2 separate regions of the Homo sapiens genome follow, and region 2 is linked to region 1. Evidence: promoter capture Hi-C in 16 types of primary human blood cells and fetal thymus (Javierre and others, 2016). All regions are on one chromosome and are shown on one strand. Each heading gives the region's core, a stretch centred on a gene start or on the middle of the fragment in contact. The rest is flanking DNA. Distances are from core to core; before and after follow the strand shown. Region 1 holds the start of LANCL3 (LanC like family member 3). Region 2 holds the start of CYBB (cytochrome b-245 beta chain).

What was found. The method cuts DNA at HindIII sites, captures the fragments that hold promoters and counts their contacts. A CHiCAGO score of 5 or more calls a contact.
Region 2: a contact is called between the fragment with the promoter of CYBB here and the fragment with the promoter of LANCL3 in region 1, in 6 of 17 cell types (megakaryocytes, erythroblasts, fetal thymus and 3 more). The highest score is 10.6, in megakaryocytes.

What each region holds. Positions count from the first base shown.
Region 1 is chrX:37,567,441-37,574,628 of GRCh38, reverse strand. It overlaps LANCL3 (LanC like family member 3), which reads right to left and starts at 2,968. Exons shown (of 5, transcript NM_001170331.2): 1 at 2,186-2,968. The coding sequence starts at 2,758. The HindIII fragment of the contact is 8,836 bases long and covers 590-7,188 here.
Region 2 is chrX:37,775,929-37,783,116 of GRCh38, reverse strand. It overlaps CYBB (cytochrome b-245 beta chain), which reads right to left and starts at 3,058. Exons shown (of 13, transcript NM_000397.4): 1 at 2,995-3,058; 2 at 934-1,029. The coding sequence starts at 3,039. RefSeq lists an enhancer at 2,967-3,016. The HindIII fragment of the contact is 266 bases long and covers 2,923-3,188 here.

The sequences.
Region 1 (7,188 bases), core at 1,719-4,218:
TTGAGCAGGGAAATAACATGATGAAAAATGTCTTTTGAAATATTTGTTTCTTAGAGGTAGATGGAACGGCTTGAGTGGGAGATTCTAGCTCAAAGTATATTGCACTAATCCCAATATATGGTGATTCATTCATTCAACTATTTATTAGGTGGCAAAGATGTGCCCAGTAATGTGGGGAGGATCTAAATTAGAGCGATAACTGAGGGAATTGCCAGAGGAATGTGAATATAAATGACATCGGAGGGGAAGAAACCCAGGACATACTGAGAGATTATTTATAGAGAAATGACACAAATTCGCAATTCAATCTAATCAAGGTCTATGGATCACCTACTGAGGACAAAGTCCTGTGCTGGCTAGGATTTGCGGGGAGGGGATGGGGTATAAAACTTCTACTTTCCCCTCAAAGGGCTTCCAGCCTGGCATGCTTAGCCCCTGCCCTACACCTTTCAAGCCAGAAAGTCTTGAATTGACACAGCTGCAGCTGGCACTGGAACTAACTGGTTTGCTCAGGCTCAGGTTAAGACCTGTTTTTGTTGGTGGTGGTGGTGGGTTTTTTTTTTTTTTTTTTTTTGCTATCCTTGAAGCTTGTTCCATCTCCTGGGAGCAGGGGCCAAAGCACCTCAACTCGATTAGTAAAAAAAAAAAAAGACCTGGTTTGGCAGGAGGGCAGAAGAGAGGTCTTAATAGATGTCTTGTGTGGATCAGTGTTGCAGAATGGCCTGAACCACCAGTTTTTGGGCAGAGTCCTTCTGGTCTGCTTCCACCTGTGTGATCTAGTGGTCACACACTCTTCCCATTCCATTCTGGAAAAAAGGCCTCAAGGCATGGAAAGGGGAAGAGGCAAGATTAAGGAAAACAATTGGAAAAAAAAATTTGAAAATTGCCTGCTGCCAGACTACAAGGTGAGGGGAGCAGATGCAAATGCAATGCAAATGATATGTAAATATCTCTGTGGCCTTCTAAAAGGTTTTCTACAACTGGAAGGGCATTTGAAAAACTGCTGGCAGTTAACAGTGACTCAGAAGCAGAGCAAACTATTTCAAGACAACTTTGTGACATAAACCTTTGCTGCCCAGCTAACACAGTGCACATTCTTTAGTAATCTTTTTTCTCACTTGAATCAACCTCACCTGCTATTAAAAAAAAACCCTGTCTGCCTCTGTAGAGGTGATCTAAGTTAATTACTCTTTTAAAACACTCTATATACCTTTAATTTTTCTTCAAACGCCTTTCTCACCTAAATAAAGCCAAGTTAAATGTGTCACTTCCTCCCTAGAACAGTAGTTGGCTCCAGGGGATTATGAATGAAAGTGCCTCTCTCTCCGTTCTAGTCACTATGATCCTTCAGAGTTTTGTTCTTTTTCCTACTCCACAGGAACTGGCATATTCTCTTCTAATAACCACATGCTGATTTCAAAGTGAGTCCAGGAAAAAATATGTATGTGAAAACCAATTCACTTTTAGGAGCCACTGTAAAGTTATTCATCAAGAAAAGCTGCCCTGTCAAGAAAGCTGTGGTCTTGCCCATCCTAAGCAAATATTTTTAAGTGAAATAATGCACATTCAACCACAATGGGGTACATTTCCGGGTACGTTTCCGTCTACATTTATGTATTTTTAAAGGGGACACTCCTATCAGATATGCATTTAATAAGAGCCATGGGTTGAACTGAATAGTAAGCAAAACAGTAAACACATCAGACCCACAGCTGAGCAGTTATTCTTGGTTACAGACCCAGGGCTCCAGAAGCAACTTACCTCCACATCGGCCCCGAAAAGTTCCATTACTTTCTAGCACTCTAACATTCGAGGATGCCTCAGCTTTTGACAGCAGAGTCAAAGGAAAGGAAATCCCTTCCATTTCTGAGGTTTTCATCTTACTTGAAAGGGCCACACTGTCATCCCCCAGAAAGCTAACAGGCATCTGGAGTGATGCCACGTAAAAACACGAACAAAGCGCAGAGACGCCGAATCTCAACAAATGAGAGACTGAAAACGACAGGAAAGAAGAGGGACAAAAGCAGGAGATAGACCTCAAGGGACTGAAGAAATGCTAGCACCACACCAAGAGTAACAAAGACTTGGAGAGCAACTCGGGACAGTGCTGCCCGAGCCACGGAGTCCGGGGAAAGGAGGCCGGGCAGGCGGCGAGCGCCCTCCCGCGGCCCGGGCTACCTCTTACCTCCTGGGCGAGTTTCTGCTTGAGCACCAGCGCGGCACACAGGTAACCCGCGCGGCCCACGAACAGCTCGTCGGAGCCGCACTCCAGGAAGGAGACCGGCGCGCAGACGGCACACAGAGCCCGGAACTTGCCCAGCGGCTGCACGTAGTCGGACCGGCCCAGGGCGTGGTATACGAGCGTGGCCACGGCGTACACGCCCGCGCCCCCGAGCAGGAAGGCGGCGCGGGTGTCGGCGTCCGGTTCGCCCCACTCCTCAGCGCGGGCGCACGCGTCGATGAGGCGCTTAGCCGAGCGCAGGTAGCGTTCCCGGGCCGTGGCGAAAAGCGGGCTCTGCGAGACGTGGTAGAGCATATACGCCACTCCGGCCACGCCGCCATAAAGCCCCCCCTGGCAGGCGCTAGCCCCCGCCGTCGCCCCTCGGGCCTCCGCGCCGCCCCCGAGTGGGGGAAGCTCCTGGAGGATGCGCTCGATGGTGGCGGTGACCAAGGGCGCCACCGCCTCCTCACACTGGCCCGCCAGCAGGCTGCCCTGGTAGTCATCGAAGCGATTGGCGAAGCAGCGCTTGGTGTCCATGCTGTTGCCCGTGCCCCCTAGTGCGGAGCTGAGGACCGCTTGAAGTCGTGCCCTGCAGCCCCGCACACCACCTCCGGCTCTCTGAGGCACTCGGATGCCGGTGTATGCGGCGGGGAAGGAGCGAGAAGGATGAGACGGGAGGTGACAAGAGGAGGCGGGCAAGGAGCGGATGGCCAAGTGGGGCGCCGGGCTGCCGCGAGGCTCCCGAGTGGCCCGGGCGATCGCGGGGGATGCGTGTCCTGCGCCCCCCCTCAGAGGCCGCGCCCTCGCTGAACCCGCCCCCTCCTGCGCCGCCGCAGCTTGGCTGCCTCTTCAAGGGGCCGAGGTGATCTCTGGCAGGACCCACGCGGGGCCCGCGCCACTCCTCCCGCTCCGCCCCCGACTCCTCCCCTACTGGCAGAAGGCCGAGGACGTGCGGGACACTGATCTGGAACGCTGGGACTCAGCATACACACACCTGGCGGTAGAGGTGATGGTCTCCAGTCCCTTGTATACTCAAAGTGTGGTCCTTGGGTTAGAAGCATCAGCATCACCCGGGGGCATGTTAAAAACGCAGCATCTCAGGCTTCACTCCAGACCTATTGACTCCAAATCTGAATATTCAGCAAGATTGCCAGGTGATTCGCATGCACATTAAAGTTTGAGGCGCCACTGAACTAGGCTAGAGTAGCAAGACAAAACTGGGCGCCTTCTTTGAAGTTTGTATTTCATCTTGGTCGCTTCGGAGTTCTCATTATGAATGTTTCAATCCCAAAGGCTGGGGCATTTGAGCACATCATGTTTAATGCATTAAAACGGTGAAATACCCCATACAGGAACTTTTTTCCCAGCTTTGATTTTTGTATTGTTTTCTTCGAGTATACAGGAGTAAAAAGTCAAAGAACCACACCAGGTTAAGGCAAGGAAGGGGCACGCCCCTCCTGCCATGCGTGCATAGTAAAAGCTCAATACATATCTTGAGGTCATTAACTAGTTAATATTAGGATAAACGCTCTGTGAGAATTTAATTAGGCTTTTTATCTCCCCCTTCCCTCCCTTCTTTTCCCATGTTTGTCCTCTTCTGCTTTTTTCCCAAGGGCGTTGTGGAGGGTCTCCTATGTGTCCTGAAACCTGGAAATAGAGGGATGAATAAGATAGACATGGTCCTAGACCCCTTGTAGCTTACAATTCAGTAGGAAAAAACAGAAAATGAACAATTACACAAGCTAGTTGCCTTTCTTGTGCTCAGCTGTTTGAAATAATTCTGCCTTTCCCAAAGTGTTGACTCTTGAAGACTAAAGAGGTCACGTCTCCCAGGAGTATTTGACTTTTGATAGGGACTGTGCAAGACATAAAGGAGTAAGTGGCTCATAGAACAGTTTCTGATACTTTGTGGGGAGAGTAACTACTCCACTTACTTGAAAGGCCAGTTTGGAGGCATTTTTTTTTCCTCAGAAGTGTTAAATGTCACCATGATTGGGAAGCAGATATTAAATACCCTGCCCCTCCACCCTTACTTGATGTAGTCTGGGAAAGAACCTTAGTTTGCCAACATGATTGCCAGGACTGACACATCCACATAGTTCAAGGACAGTATGGCCATCGTCCCCCTTTGATGCTGCCAAAACAGGTTTATTTTTAATAATAATAATAATGATAAAAGTCCACTTTTAGGCAGGGAGCTTGATATGTTAAAGGAGGAAAAGGCATCAAAGAAGCAACAGGAATGTTGAGTTTCTCCTTGAGACTTCCTTCCTCATCCCTCAACCATAACAGACATTAGAGGTGATTTTTGTCCCCTCAGACAAGGAAACATAAAATAAAGCCTTTACCAGCAGAAATGAAGCCTTATTCCACTTCATTCCTCCACACCTCACTCACCCTTGTCATGAATCTAGAGGCAACTCTATTAATTCTGACTCTGATTATTCTTCGAAACACTCCAGCCTAGAGGTAGCGCCAGCAACAACAACAGGGATCTGCTAACTGGCTTCAAAATAGAACTGTGTGTAAACACGTCTCCAAGAAAACGAGCTCTTCCACTTTTTCCCAGTTGTGTCATCTGTCTATTGCCCCAAAATGCTGTATGAAAAGCAATCACAAAATCTAATAGCATATGGCAGTAAATTTAATGTTTATGCATCTAGGATCTTGGCTGGGCTCATTCAGGTGTCTGGAGGTGGGTTGGGTCTTGCTTGGGGAGACTGAGGTGACTGGCCTCTGGCCCATATGTCTCTTCTCTTTTAGCTGGCCAACCCCAGCATGCTTGCACGGCAATGGCAGAGGGGCTAAAGCAAAAGCAGAGACATGCAAGACTTCTGAGGGTCTAGTCTCAGGAGCACACACTCTTTTCTGCCTTAGTCTATTGGCAAATCACATGAGGAAATATAAGGTGTTTTTGTTGAACTTCAAATTTGCATGACAAAGGGTATGGATACAGGGTAGGGTGAAGCGTTAGGGTTCTTTGAAACCCCACCTCTAATTGTCCTATACTTAATTTGCATGCAGTGTTATTTATTTTAATATCACTACTCCACTAGAATATACTCTCCATGAGGGTAGGGCTTTTTCTTGCATTTATTTACTGATATGCAAGATCCTAGAATAGTCTCTATTCTACCACTACTACTGCTACTGCTATTGCTACTACTACCACTACTCCCTGTAGTAGATATTTACTGAAAGTTTATGAAATAATGAATGAATTACCATGAGAGTGCCATGAGAGACTTAAGGTACCCTAAAGTATAGAACACAGAGTGAGGCCTTTTTTGAAACCTTAGCCTGACATGTCTAAACTCCTCCTATATTCTTGGACCCTTTTCCTCTTGTGAGCACAAGAATGTAAACATTCTGCAGTTTTTGCTCTTGTCTGTTTCTCTACAAGATATGGTGACCTCTATACTTTACCTTGAATTCGGGGTCTTCACACATTCTACTTTTGCTAATTAACCCTGTGTGGCAGCTTATATTTTTCAAATATGGCCACAACAATATCTCCTATGCCACATGTTCCTCTGCAATCAATGTGACCTTGACATTCCTCTCATCAGGAGGGAGGTACATGCAACCTCTTCTGAATTCTGGGTGGGCTTATATCTCATTTGTAACCAATAGAATGTGATGGAAATAACACCGTATGGCATCCAAGGCTTAATTATAAAAAGTAATGCAGCTTCCATCTTAAATGTTGCAGCACTCACATTTGGAGCCTTGGGCTGCCTTGTAAGAATCTGACTACCCTGAAGCTGCCTTATCGAGAGGAAGCCCAGACAACATGAAGAGGTCACCTGGAAGTGCTTGGATTGACAGCCCGAGGACAGCATCAACTGACAGCTATGTGAGTGAACCACTTTGGAAATATCCACCCCAGTCAAGCCTTCAGATTACCATCATCCCAGACCCTTCCAGAATTCCTGACCCAAAAAATTACAAACAAAAATATAGTTGTTATAAGCCTCGAAGTTTTAGGATAATGTGTTATGGAGCAAGGTAACTGGAATGTCCTGCTAGCTTCCCATAATCCAATGCTCTGGAAGTCCCCTCTAATCAATAGTCTACACTCAACAGGGCAATGAGCAGTTAGGAAGATAAATATTTTAGAGAAGTCTGGAAGACAGAGAAGTATGCAGGCACCCAAAACGTTGTGTTCTGAAATAACAATTCCAGTTGGATTCTTTAAAAGTAGTGATGACCCCACAAGAAATATGCAGTCTATACAAAATCTTGCCAAGGCCATTTATTTTACCATTATCTGCAAGATTTGTCCTGATAGTCACAGAATTTCTAGCAGCATTTGCTGACAGGCAGCTCCCAACACATGTTTCTGTGATCTTGCTGAATTGCTCAGTTCCTAGTTCTTCTTCAGTACGTCCTTATTATGCAGATTATGCAAAACTATGGATGGAAGAGAGTATTATTGGGTTCATCAAGGAAATCGCATAAAAATTATGCAAAACTATCCAGAAAAGAGAGTATTAAAATCAGGGTTTCTCTTATGCAAATTATTGCTCTCTATGGGTGAATATGAAAAAAAATCAGTAATTGTATAACTGTCAAACCTTACCAATTAAGATTTAATACATTTTATGGGATAATGCATCCTAGAAATGCTTTCAAAAAGTTTTCCAAAATTTTGTTCAAAGGGTGCATCCTAGAAATGCTTGAGATAACTGAATAGTGCTTTCTTCATTCCTTATAGCATATCCTCTGTGGTGACTCATCCCTATTTTATTAGATTAACAACATAATTGGAAACTTTTCCCTAATTCTCCTCTTTCCTTTGCAGTTTTCTGTCCTTTGAATACTCTTCAAAAAATTACCTCATGGCTTGCCTCTTCACCTCTCTTTCAATGAGACTTTCTCCAACTTATTAGTTTAAAGTTACTACCCCTCCACCAACCATTAGTATCTAATGACTACATATTTTACCTATTTGTTTTGTTTCCCAT
Region 2 (7,188 bases), core at 1,809-4,308, 210 kb before region 1:
AAGTAAGTTACAGACAACAGTTCACTTTCTCTTTAACACTTAAGGTGCATATCATTAACTAGAGTTAAGTATCAAGACTTTTAAAGATTTTAAATATTTTCTTAGCACTTAAATTGATCTTAACAGTATCTTAAATTGGTATGGTATAATGCTTTGGCATTATAATTATTATATTTGTAATGTCTAAAGAAGTTGCATATTTTGGCGGGAGAAAGCATCAATGTGAATAAGCTAACAACAATTATAATGATCTAGCATAATTATATGCTAAAATTATTTATTTATGATTTATAATACTTATAATAATTAATATTAAGCAATTAATTCATAGTTTCAGCATGATGTAACAGATGTCTTCTGGAGGCAAGAGGCCTGACAGTTCAAGGAAACTCAGAATACTAAAGGACCCAAGGAAACTGAAGGGCCTTCACTCTACTGTCCTAGTCAACAGATGTGGCCCTTGAGCAAGTTCCTCGAGTCTTTATATGTAGAGAGAGATTTATTTTCTGAAGATCATTTCATAACATGTGATTAGGAGCAGAGCTCTTCATGCAAAAAAGTACTAGGAATTAGGTGACTTAGAAAATATGGAAAGTCCCACTTGTCCCACATGTGTCACTCCTGGATGGATTGCTCCAACCTGCCCTTCCATTTCAGAGTGAGTATTAGATTTCTCCTTTAAGCTAAACAATGGCACATGGTTCTTGGTTGGGGAAGGATGCCACTGGGGCCCTCTGCCCCACTTTTGTTGGTCCCAGACTGGAAGGCTTTAAGTGACTGTTGCCCAGGAAGTTGCAATGGAGGGAGTGAGGCTAATGGTACTGTTTGGGTTGGTCAGAATATGTATTTAAAATGCTAACAGGAAGATGAACAAGAATGTCTGATGAGAAATGTGAACCAGCCAATATTGCATGGGATGGAATTTATACTTACCCCAAGAAGTTTTCTTGTGTAAAAGAACTTAGGTGGAATATCATAAACCCGGTAATACCAGACAAAGAGGAAGACGTTCAACCCCAGCCAAACCAGCTGCACAAACAGAAATAATTGCATGAAGTTTCCGCATTTCCACAGTAGATTCCACACAAGACTGGAGTCAGATAAGGGTCAGGACTTCCCCAAGTCCAACTTTGACAAAGGTAGTGACAAAGCTGGATATAACCAGCTTAGAGCCAGCTCTTTCCTCAACAGTGTCACTACACTTGTCTATAATTAAAACCTCTCCACCCTGTGTTGTTCCCCATGATTGTTTTATGATTTGGCCAGTATACCAAATTATCAGTCTTACATTACCCCACTCCCTTTTTTTCCCCTCTCTTTTGCTTAACCTTGGATAGGTAGCTGATAGCAGGCCACTCCACTTAAAATGAGAAAGGAAGGGAACATATTACTATTGCTTTCCCTCCACCAGTATGACACTGCGTTCTGTTCTCACAGGTGCTAATCACCTCCCTCTACCACACAGTAATCCAGCTAGTGAATTCTCATCAGCTAAAATGCCAAGCCTTCCATTTTCCTTGATTAGTTTTACTTAATGCTTCAAGGAGAGAATATTGAGCATAGTGAGGGGCTTGGGATTTACAACAAAAACAGCTTTCTAGATCATGACAGTTCATTTTATCCTAAGCACTGACTGGATCAAGTGGTCACACTACCCAGTTCTCTACCTTCAGCTCCATAGTGATCTTTTCTCAACTATGCTTTGAAGCTATTATATGCTCTAGACACTTGATAATATTCTCTCTTTACAAAGAAAAAAGTGCTAAAGCAACTTCCCAATTTCCTGATCTTGTCATTCTTTCTTTACTCTGACTTTCCAAGCTGTGTTTTCACTTTCAAGTGCATGAGTATATAATTTAGAAGGAGGTCATTTCCTGGGAAAAATTGTGGCGAGAGCTAAAAGTTTAATTTGAACTTACTTTCTATAGAAATTATTTGCCCTTAAAAATGGTGATAAGAAGTTAAGTTTACAGCTTCGAATACTCGGAAGAATTCTCTGTTGCAGTAGAATGTTGGTTTGGCGTAAACATTTTTTATAACAAAATATTTGTTGTTTTTATTTGTGCCACTAATTGCTTTCTATATTTAAAACTCAAAGACTCATTATTTTTCATGATAAATTTTTACAAAAGCTCCATTCATATTCCATTCATAATTGTACTTTTTAACATCTGTGTAATGCTTCTATTGGTTATTTAGAAAGGCTATTTAAAAATCGTATTTCTATCTACCCAATTTGTCCATTATTGCTTTGCTGATAACACCATTTTAAGAGAACAGTTGATTTTCTTTGTTTTAAAAAGTACAGAAATCATTCTGTCCACTTGTAAATTAGCTATATCTTTACTTACATAGTTTCTCCAGACTATATTGATTTATATATATATACAATTATATATAAATATACATACTACATATTTATGAATCTAGATGACTTATTTCAATTCTGTTCTTTTGAATTTTTATAAATCTTATAAATAACTCAAGTTTAGATCTCTGAAAAAAGAAGGTACTTGTTTTTGAAAATAAATTTGAGAAGTTTTATTATATTTAGTGTAATTACTGAAATAAAGGCCTACTTCCCATACATGAGTCAATCTTATATTTTTTATTTAGAAAATGGTATAAAATTTCAATTTGTCATTTTTAAAGTAGTATAAACACATAGACATGTGCGTCTGAGTAAACATTACTAAACAACTCAGAATCAGAGATCATTAGCATGAAATATTTTCTACTCCTTCTGCGAAATGCTGGCTAATTTATTCCTCCTAGGAATTCAGAAGTAAGCTAGAAGTGAGCCCCCAGATATGTTCTTTCCATTAAGGAATTTGGAAGAATGGACTCAGTCTGTTTACAGATAGATATAGGTTCACATGGTAAATCAGTTTCAACACAATTCCTCAAATGAACAAAAAAGCTTTGGTCTATTTTAGTTCCAAGATAACCCCGAGAAGTCAGAGAATTTATAACTTATCTCTTGTTGGTACTTACAATGACAAAAATGGAGAGCCCCTCATTCACAGCCCAGTTCCCCATGGTGGCAGAGGTTGAATGTGTTGTGTTTGCCTTTCTTCTATACTATGCTTCTTCTTCCAATGAGGAAATGAAAACAGCAGCCCTGGGGCAATCGGTTTCCTTTTCTTTTATCAGAAATTGGCTAATAATCATTGGTCAACTGAAAAGCTTGCATCCATAACAAACTTAAATCTTTAAACCTCAACAACTACAAAAAAAGGGTCTATAATGATCCAGTCACAATTAAACATAGTGGAAAATGAAACCAATTTCTACAACTAAGAGATAAATAACAGTGCATTTTAAGGGATGTATTTTACACAGTGAAATAACTTTTTAACTAACCAGCTATTTGATCACAATTTTTAAGCCACTCAACTAGACATGACTTCGTGCTGGGTAAAACACATTAAACAGGTGTGATTTTGACAGGCTGGAACAGCATTCATAGCCTTGCTGAGAAAAGTAGTAACAATTGTAATGGTTGATATTTACAAAATGCTTAATATGTGCCAATTTTATGTGCTATATATGTCTATATATGTGTGTGTGTATGTTCATGTATAGCTATCATATATATATATATATATATATATATATATATATATATAATTTGAAACATACATATATAAATACAGATGCTTTGGCCAATGATGAACCACATGTATGACAGTGGTCCCATAAGATTATAATGGTGTTGGCCAGGCACGGTGGCTCACGCCTGTAATCCCAGCACTTTGAGAGGCTGAGTGGGGTGGATCACTTGAGGTCAGGAGTTTGGGACCAATCTGGCCAACATGGTGAAACCCCGTCTCTACTAAAAATACAAAAATTAGCTGGGCATGGTGGTGGGCACCTGTAGTCCCAGCTACTCAGGAGGCTGAGGCAGGAGAATCACTTGAACCTGGGAGTCAGGTTGCAGTGAGCCGAGATTGTGTCATTGCACCCCAGCCTGGGCGACAGAGCAAGACTCCATCTCTCTCTCTCTCTCTCTCTCTCTCTCTCTCTATATATATATATATATATATACATATATATATAATATATAATATAATATATAATATATATACTTGTGTGTGTGTGCTGAAAAATTCCTACCATCTAGTGACATTGTAGCATAACACATTACTCATGTGTTTGTGGCAATGCTGGTGTAAACAAACCTACTGAGCTGCCAGTTGTAAAAGTATAGCACATACAATTATGTACATTACATAGTACTTGATAGTAAAAATAGATGACTATGTTACTGGTTCATTTATTTACTAGACTATACTTTTAATCATTATTTTAGAGTATACTCCTACTTATAAAAAAGTTAACTGTAAAAGAATCTCAGGCAGGTCCTTCAGAAGGTATTCCAGAAGAATGCATTGCTGTCATAGATGACAGCTTCATGCATGTTAGTGCCCTTGAAGACTGTCCAGTGGGGCAAAATGTGGAGGTGGAAGACAGTGATATTAATGATCCTGACTTTGTGTGGGCCTAGGCTAATGTGTATGTTTGTGTCTTAGCTTTTAACAAAAATGTTTTAAAGGTAAAATATAAAAATAAAAAATTTAAAAACAGAATAAAGCTTCTAGATATGGATATTAAAACATTTTTGTACAGCTGTAAAATTTTTTTTGTTTTAAGCTTAGGGTTATTACAAAAGAGTCAAGAAATTAAAAAAGCAAAAGTTTATAAATAAAAAGTTACAGTAAGCTAAATTTATTTCATTATTGAAAAAACAAAATGTTTTGCATATTTAGTATAGCCTAAGTGTACAGTGTTCATAAAATCTATAGGAGTGTACAAAAATGTTCTAGGCCTTCCTATCCATTCACCACTCACTCACTGACACATAGAGTAACTTCTAGTTCTCCAAGCTCTACTCATGGTAAGTGCCTTATACAGGTGTACCATTTTTAATCTTTTATACTTTATTTTTATTGTCTATTTTCTATGGTTAACTATGGTTAGATACCATTGTGTTAGAATCTCTGACAGTATTCAGTACAATAAAAAACGATAAGGTTTGTAGCCTAGCAGCCATAGGCTATACCATGTAGCCTAGGCGTGTAGTAGACTATACCATCAGGTTTATGTAAATACACTCTATGATTTTCACACAACAACAAAATCACCTAAGGATACATTTCTCAGAACAAATCCCCCATAGTTAAGTGATATGACTGCATATATGTGTGTATTACACATATAGACACACATGCAAACACACACACATCAATTCATTTGATCCTCACAACTCAACCACTGTAAAGCAGATTCTATTATTATGATTATATTTACAGATAAGGAAACTGAGTTCCAGAGCAGTTCAGTTACTTGGCCAAGTTCACATAACTAGCAAATAGTAGAGTTGGGATTTAAAACCCAAGAAATTTGGTTATACTTTTGACCAAGATACTAGAAAAAAGCCTTACTATGCCTACACTAAAAACCCTACATTAAATCACTCCACATACAACTATAGGAAAACATGACAAAATACAAGAAATATACCAAAATGTTTAGATGGCAATCATGTTTCCAGGCAAACATGACATCCTATATGCTAAGTGAGTAAACAGGGTCAGCACAAAGATATGTCAGATATGGTAGATGCCAAAAGCTAAATGTAGCATCATTTCCCTTGTTGGTACCCACTCTTCAAGACATGAAAGAGACAGGAAGGTAGGATAGTAACCCCATTATGAGATCAATATTGACTAATTGCACAAGGGTAGTTGTACAGCAGTTATAGCTAATATGGAGGTAAAAAAAAAAGAAATGGGAGGAGTGAAAGGGAACAAAAGAAGGAAAAAAAAGACATAAGTACTCTTTTGATTGTTGTCCATGAACTACTTGGGAAGCTTCTGTAATTACGATAATTAGCAAAGTAGTAGTGTTTTTCACTTCTTAATATTCAAGGAAAGGTACTTTTTAGAATGCTATGGCTCTTAGACCATGTGTAAACCACATAAAGAGAAGTTAGTCTCGTGGTTCTGTTCCACACAGAGATGAATTCAAAGAAACACACTTAGACAATTAAAACATGTGCCAATTATTTGCCTCTTGCTCTCAGGTCTATTCCCCACTTTCCTTGCTCTACTGTGTTTCAGAGAAAATTGTATTGCCAGGCTCCTTGGCCCTCTGGCTTCTAGTATGTTTAGCTGAATTGGAGAATGGATAGCAGGAGATAAGCCATAGTGTTTCTTCCCTGAGCTTTCTGCTTTAAGTGGCATCCATGAAGGGGCTGCATCTGCACTGAGGCTCCAACTTTCACCAGTCAGCCTCTCCCCCTGTGGCATGAGCTAGTCCTAGCCATCACCACTGTAGCTCAAGATTCTGCCAGGTGGCCCTGGCTTCTGAACTCAAGTTACACCACCACCTCCTAGTTTCCCTCTAACCCCTAGGGTGGTAACCACTTCCTGTAGTTGTTCATCTTTATATTATGTTGCCTCTGCACCCCATGTTGGGATTCTCTACTTTTCCATAATCCATGTAACAAATTTCCTGGTATGAAATTCCCCCTGTTGAAATACAGTGGTTTCTGTTTTTTGACTGAAACAAAAAAGTTACTCATATCTGTACTTATTTTTTTCATGTATTCAAAGAAGTGAGGCCTTTATACCCAAAGAAAAATAAAACATATTTAAAAATCCACTTTCTCTCCTCATCTCTGCCACTCTCAAACTCCTCTACAAAGATGACTGCTTCACCATAAGCTCTTGGAACTCATCAGTCTTTTCCTCTGTACTTATCCCCACTGTTCTCTTTCTCTGCCTATTGGATCATCTTCCTTTATCCCACTTAAATTTTCAAGCCTTTCTCATACTTTTCCACCTGCCTCCTGAAGCCTGTGCTCTGCTGGGGAGGCAATGACAAAGGGATCATTAATCTGCATATACCAGGAAATAACATTCCCAGTTTCACATAAACTTATTTCTTGAACATTTTCCCACTCCCTTTCCTTCCCTCCATAATTTGAGAAGAAAATTCAAAAAAGAAAGAATCTTTTCCCTGAGTAATCAACCATTCCATTCTACTGATTTCCCCTCCCCCCCGCCTTTATAAAAGTAATCACAGGGCTATGAGTAGCAATTTCTTGAGAACCTTAAGCACCTCAATCAGTTTTACAGTGGGAGAGAGAGAGATCAGTTGCAATGAAGAGTAAAGTCTTTCTTT